Linked DNA regions of Homo sapiens: region 2 is linked to region 1. Evidence: promoter capture Hi-C in 16 types of primary human blood cells and fetal thymus (Javierre and others, 2016). All regions are on one chromosome and are shown on one strand. Each heading gives the region's core, a stretch centred on a gene start or on the middle of the fragment in contact. The rest is flanking DNA. Distances are from core to core; before and after follow the strand shown.

What was found. The method cuts DNA at HindIII sites, captures the fragments that hold promoters and counts their contacts. A CHiCAGO score of 5 or more calls a contact.
Region 2: a fragment that was not itself captured here is called in contact with the fragment with the promoter of ACTR10 in region 1 in 3 of 17 cell types (naive B cells, total CD4 T cells and M2 macrophages); the score reaches 5.7 in naive B cells.

Annotation. Positions count from the first base shown.
Region 1 is chr14:58,198,308-58,202,018 of GRCh38, reverse strand. ACTR10 (actin related protein 10) reads right to left here and starts at 1,870. Exons shown (of 13, transcript NM_018477.3): 1 at 1,725-1,870. The coding sequence starts at 1,801. RefSeq lists enhancers at 1,488-1,677, 2,298-2,427 and a silencer at 1,838-2,227. The HindIII fragment of the contact is 4,366 bases long and covers 1,512-3,711 here.
Region 2 is chr14:57,385,325-57,388,603 of GRCh38, reverse strand. No RefSeq gene overlaps it. Among named protein-coding and RNA genes, the nearest start is that of NAA30, 3.6 kb to the left of the region's middle. The HindIII fragment of the contact is 1,551 bases long and covers 1,027-2,577 here.

The sequences.
Region 1 (3,711 bases), core at 621-3,120:
TTTTTTTTTTTTTTTTGAGGCAGGGTCTCGCTCTGTCGCCCAGGCTGGAGTGCAGTGGCACAAACTCAGATCACTGCAGCCTCCGCTTCCCAGGCTCAAGCGATCCTCCCCCCTTGGCCTCCCAAAGTGCTAGGATTTCGGGCACGACACTACCGCCGGCTAAATTTTGTATTTTGTGTAGAGCTGGGTTTCCCCATGTTGCCCAGGCTGGTCTTGAACTACTGGGCTCAAGTGGTCAGCCCGCCTCAGCTTTCCAAACTGCTGGAATTACAGTATTATTTTTAAAACCACATATTTCATTATTTTAAAAACGATGCTCTTTTCTTGAGTATTTAGGTATTTCCATTTTTGTTTCATGTTAGTAAAACAAAAATTTGCTAAAAACGTTGCTAAAAATGATCATCATACTAGTTTAGTCTTAACATCCTGTCTTCTTGTCCTGTCTAGTTTTTGATACTGCTCTCCTCGTATTCCCAAATAATTCTCTCCATCTCCTCCTATTCCCGTCTCCATGTTTACTTGCATCAGTGCTCCTCAAACATCTCAGAATGCAAGCCATTAGACTTCAATTCCTTTTTTTTACTTCATACATTTATCTTATCATCCTCCTGCTGTCTTTTTCAAATATAGCTTTTTGCTTATTTCTTCCAAGTACAGCCAAAATAATTATCTTTGACTAGAAGCCTCGAACTGTTTATTACGCTTTCAAAATAATTTTAATAAGAAAATATAAATAAGGAAGGGCCTCGCATAGAACAATAAGAGAATGTCATTAACCAAGGACTATGTTTAATCCAATTCTGGAGTTCCTGGGGTCCAATTTTTAAATAGGCTCTTTTAACCACTTAGTCAATAAATAGTTATTAAATACCTACTACACGTCAGGAAGTGCCTAGAGATATAAAAAGATTTTTCAAATGTTTCATTTTCATAAATACATATATGATGTAATTGCCTGTTACTTCCCTCTCTGTTGAGCCCATCACAAGGACTCTTAATCTAGGGTCCCAGGACCACATTGATTGTCTGCCAATTCCCTGAAACTGTGTATAAGTACCTTAAGATTTGTGCATTTGTGGTTTTCATCCAGCCATTAAAGAGATCTATGCCATCCGAAAGGTTGAGAACCTCCTCTCTATTGTTTACAAGTTGGTTTGTTTAAAACATGTCAAATCTAACCTTCGAGTTTAGGGGAGCCAACAAAGGATTTCCAGAATCTTATCTATAGGGTTTCACCTCTTAATGTGCCCAGTCTCCCTAATTCTTGAGCAGCGATAGCCCTGTCTTAAACATCTTTCCATTTTCAGCACCAAAATAAACTCCGTTCAATATTTTATGATGAAATTCGTCATCGAGCATTTACATTCGGTTGGCTGCCTTCCTCAACTGAGGAGCCCAGGGTAAGCGGGGTCTAGGTCACGGTTGTCATCCCCTACACAGATGATCCCAAAGGGTTTGTTGGGTTTGGGGTGATGACAAGGGGCGGCGACGAGGGCAATTCAACAGAAGCTTTCTGGGCCTCTCTGGGAGTCAGACCCCGATCCTCGGATTCGCATCGCCCAGGGAGGAAATAATAAGAGCTGTTATTTGCAAGGGCGCTGGTTGAAGAAAAGGGGAGGCCCGGAGCTGCCCAGCGAGTCGGCGATGAGGACCCAGGCAGTGCCTGGGGCTCTGCCACCCGCCCTCCCCTCGGGTCGAACACAGCTGGCGTCACGGCCACTCACTTGGTAAAGGCCTCTCCCAGGTCGATCACGACCGCCGTCTTCTCCCCGCCGCTCCCCAGGCCCTCGTAGAGCGGCATGGTAGTAAGGCAGACTGAGAGAAGAGGGTCGCAGTCTCCGCGGCCAACAAGTCTCGGCGCTCGCGGGGCGGGGCCGGGGCTCCGGCGCTCGGGCGTCGGCGACGGCGGGGGCCTCGCGCGGCCGCGGCGCGCCGGGCCCGGGCTGTCCCAGGCTGTGCCTCATTCCGCGTTGGACCCACCCTTGCAGGTGCTGCCGTCGCCAGGACTAGGGGAAAAGAGGCGCTGGCGGGCGCGAATCCGAGTGCGGGGGCGCGGAGGCCGCGGCGATCAGGCGCGCCGGTCGCCCTGAGGGGGCGGAGCCGGCCTCCCTATCCTTCCCTCCCACCACGCCCCAAAGCCGCACCCACGCGCGGCTGTGAAGAGGTTCGGTCTCAGCTCACTGTGAAGAGGTCACTGAGGACCTGGCTGCCAAGGGGCAGCCGAGAGACGACGCAATTCCGAACCTTTGATTCATGCTCTTGGGGGGCAGAAGATGCTGAGACCCTATTCTGTGCTAGGCGTTTTGCCTAATATTTAATCTTCTCAAGAAATAACAAGAATATGTGTTTTCTTATCTGTGGGGACCGACGCTCAGAGAGATTAACTTTCCCAATGTCCCACGGCAGAGCCAGGAACAAACCCACAGACTTCCTAATTGCAAAGCCTATGCTAATGATGCTTTAGAGAATAATACGTACAGACAATACTTTAGTTAGTAGTCTTTCTGAAAGTTTTTATTTTACTCCAGAATTAAGCAGCTAGAGTAGCGTCTGTGAATCTTGAATCTGTCCATAGAGGAGCGGTCGGGATGGTTTAATAGAAGAAACATTGAAGCAAAGGCCCCTATTAGGTTGGTGCAAAAGTAATTGCTGTTTTTGCCACTACTTTTAACATTTACATTACTGTTTACATCTTTGTCACTTCACAGCTTTCTGTGAAAATATTTTTTTCCTGCAAATATTAGCTCTAACTGTATCTATGCATAGGAGTGGAAAAGACTGTCAAAGGAGAGGCTGTGCAATAAGAAAAGAGGTTCAAGGGTAAATCGGTGAGGACTAGCAACATTTAGCTGGTGTACTGGGTTGAATGATGCCCCCCCCCCCAAAATTCTTGTCCACTGGGAACCTCAGAATGTGACCCTATTTGGAAATAGAGTCTTGGCAGATGTAATCAAGTTAAGATGAGGTTATACTGTATTAAGATGTCCCAACTGTCCGAGCGCAGGATCACACCTGTAATCCCAGCACTTTGGGAGGCCGAAGCGGGAGGATCCCTTGAGCCCAAGAAGTCTAAAGCGGCAGTGAGTCGGGATTGTGCCGCTGCACTCCAGCCTGGGCAACAACAAGAGTGAGAGCCTGTCTCTCAAAAAAAAAAAAAAAAAAAAAAAAGGCCCTACTCTAATGGTTGGTAACTAGAGTTAGCGGGGTAGTTGGGGATAAGCTATTTCCATAACAAAAACTAAGGCTGTAACAATGCAGAAATTTGGAATGTGATATTAGTAAAATTCATGTTTAAGTCCAAATTACTGATCAATGATCCTCCTTGAAAGCAAATTCCTGGAGACAGGAGAATGAAGTTGGAGTTGTGACGGGGAAGAAAACTTTAAGAAACGTGGGAAGAGATTAAATTTTTTGCTTAATAGAGTCAGATTATTTGAATAGGACCCCTTACTTGAGTTCAGATTCTGTTTCTGCCACTTTCTGTCAAGTCCCTAATACCTCTGATCGTCCACTTCCTTATCTGTAAACTGTTCTGCTGCTTCACAAGGTATTTGTAAGGATCAATTTGAAATTATGTTTCTGAAACTATTGAAATGATGAAGTTTGTTATTACCTATTCTATGTTTTCCATGACAGCTCACCAGCTGTATTTGTTAGCTAGGGACTGCCGTAACAAAGTACCACAAACGGTGGTTCAAGGAAACAAAAAAT
Region 2 (3,279 bases), core at 553-3,052, 810 kb after region 1:
TCTTTTAAAAAGCACAAAACAAAACCATGTTTCCAAATGTGCATACATTGTTTAAAGATACATGTTTTTCAAAGTTTCTAAGTGTAACCTGGGTAGTCAGCCAATGAAACAATGATCTGTTCAAATCATGGTGGAAAAACTGGCCCAAGAGGCACCAGATAATTCCATAAGAGATGTTTAAGGGTGAATTTTACTTAGAAAAATACCTCTCAGTAATTTACTTTTAAATGTAAGCCCTTCCTAAAAAGCATGTACCTTCACTGTAGTGAATGAATGGCAGCAGGCCTTCCTGTTCTTTCTGTGTTGCAACTTGGCATTGAGCTCTGTCACACTGAGGAGCTGACCAGATGTTGTCTCAAAGTGGTTTTCAGAAAGTCAAGAGTTGTAAGGACCTTCTTGAGGCCAGGGAGTAAATGTTAGTCACTTTGTATTCACATATCAAACACATAAAAGGGAAATTGTTAAGCTTTTTGACTGAAGTACACCAGTCTCTCATTCAGTAACCTAGAATGCTTATAATGACAAAGTAAATTCTGACCTCCTCAATAACTAGTGGGGTAATTCTAATGTCTCAGCCCCAGTGATTTTTCTTTATATCCCAGTATTAAAATTACAATGTTGGCCTTCTAAATCAGATGACATCTCTAAAAAAAATTGCCTTTATAACTTATGAAATCTTTTCTATTTGATTCATGTTTACTTGATAGGATGATAGCACTATTTTAGGCATAGAAATAGGATTAGTTCACTCTAATGCTTTAGACATATTTACTATTATGAGACTCTGAAAAAACAACTACCTCCATGAGCAATACTTCATAGGAAAGAATGGGCTCAGAGCAAGGTGAGTGTAGCAGTGATACTCTTCTGTGTGGTTAGTTGATATTTTCATTGTTTTGTAATATCCTATGAAGCAACAGCCATTTTTTCTTTTCTTTTTTTTTCTTTTTTTTTTTTTTTTACTATTGTTGTTCTCTTTTGAGGAAGAAGAGAACATGCCTTAATTTTTTAGAAGAAAAAAAAGCTTCTCATTAAATCAATTAAAATAACCAATAGCAATTTTAAAACAACATCCTGAAGCAATTTATTGAAATCAGCTTGGAAGGAGAAAAATTTCTATTTAATTCTTTCTAACAGTGAGGCATTTTTCTCTTATTGGCTAGGTTTAGAGAGAAAACCTAGCTGTGTACCTACCTGAAAGGTAACTGTGGGAATGAATAATGGAAAGATGCTTTAAGTTCCCTTGACACAGCAGGATGACATTGTTATGTGCCATAGGCACACATACTAAATAATTTAAATATTTGTGTAGTTTTATTTTACATGTCATGTGGTTCTTAATCCCACTAATCCTATCTATTATACATAAAGCCCTGAAAATGAATGTCCTTAACTTTGTTTCATCTTGAATGAAAGAAAGAACATACATCAAATTTGAGAGCTGAAGAACTTAACCAAAGGATGAATATTAGTATATTGTTGTATTACCTGTAATCTTAGAACACTCTGAGATGCCCAGGTAAAAGACTAACAATTTGATTCTTCCCTTCGAATTTGGGGAATGACAGTCTGTTCTTTAAACTTCTTTCCCCTTGCCAGTAGTGGATGGCAGTACCAATTGTAGGTAGGCATCAATTTTGTTTGTAGAACTGAGGCCTCAGAGGACTATGAAGAACCAGAGAGGGTTGTGGTCAAATGGTCCCCATTTCCATTATTTTCAACCTCACACTAACTCTTCATGACCTGCCTGAAGACATGGTCAGGGTGATTCTCACAGATACACCTGGGCTGGTGAGACATGTTGGAGAGAATCATATATTCCTACATATTAGAGCCAAAAAATTTTTGGTCTCTAATTTAGCTATGCCTTCAGCTGTCTAGAATTGTTTTAACCTGTCTCCAAGGCCAGCTTCATCCAACAGCAACTGTCCTCAACCACTACTTGCTTCACACTCTCAGCAGATAACCCTGCCTCCATTTCACTAAGAAAAGTGAACTATTTCATAGGTGTGCCTTCTACTGCCATACCTATAAGTTCATCTGTATCTGAACTTACCCTTACCTCCTCCCTCCCAGTCTTAAGAGGGTGGAAGATGGATCAATTCTTCATGACTAATACCTCCCTCTACCTGTGGGCTTGATGCTTTCTCTTTCAGGCTCCTTTAGAACCTGTCCCATCATTGTTTCTCTCTCCTGAATTTTCCATGTTACCTTTGCTAGCTACTGCCTCAAAGTTTATAAACATGCCCCATTTAGAGATTTCTCCCACTACCATCCTTTTCCTGCCTCCTTTTCACCACAAACTCCTAATCTGCAATAGGTATCCACTGTCTCTACTCAGGTGCAGGTTCACTCTTCATTGGTGGGTTGGCTTCAATCTCAGCCCTTCTTCAAACAACACTCTGGCAAAAAATCACCTGTTATGTCCTAACTAGACTCTTCCAGTTCTCACATCACTTTATTCCATCGTGGCATTTCATCCTGCTGTGTCCTTCCAGAAACTCTTCCCTTGGCTTCTCCACTCTCTCTTGCCCTCCTTTGGACATTCTTTCTCAGTTGTTCTTGATAATAGAAGCTTTTAATAATAACAATAGCTACCATTTATTGTGGTCTTCCCATGTATTAAGCATGTTATAAATAATAGCTCATTTAGTTCTTATGATAACCCTATGAATTGGTGGTCAGAAGCCAGACCAGAATTGGATCACTGGCCTATTCCTGAGCCAGACACTGGAAAGGGGCTGGATTTACTCTTATGTCAATCAGGCCTGTCTGAGATTGAGTATGAGGTGAGCTTCTCCTGATGTATGTGGCTGGGGGATGAAGGAGTATCTAAGTAAAATTGGAGTTCAGATCCTGGCTCTGCCAATTACTGGCTGTGTGGTGTTGACAACTTAATGTGTCTGGGCTTCAGATTCCTCATATCGGATATGGATAATATTACATGCCTTGTAGGGTTTTGGAAGGGTAAAATGAATTATTATATGTAAAGTGTTTAATACAGAGAATATAGGAAGCCCCCGTAAATGTTAGCTGATCTCCCATCCCACCCATCCATCCTCAACATTTCTACCACTGCCACCCTTACAAAATACAAACCTATTTTGTCACTCCCTGGCTTAAATCTCTTCAGAGACTCCCATAGCCTAATAATCAAATCTAAACTTTGGTTAGGGTGCTTTGGCCACAAGCTCAATCTGGCTTTAAAAAAAAATAAGGAAATGAGACAGTCAGAGGCAGAGCGAGGTTCGGGATTAGTTGTTTCATGATATCATTGTG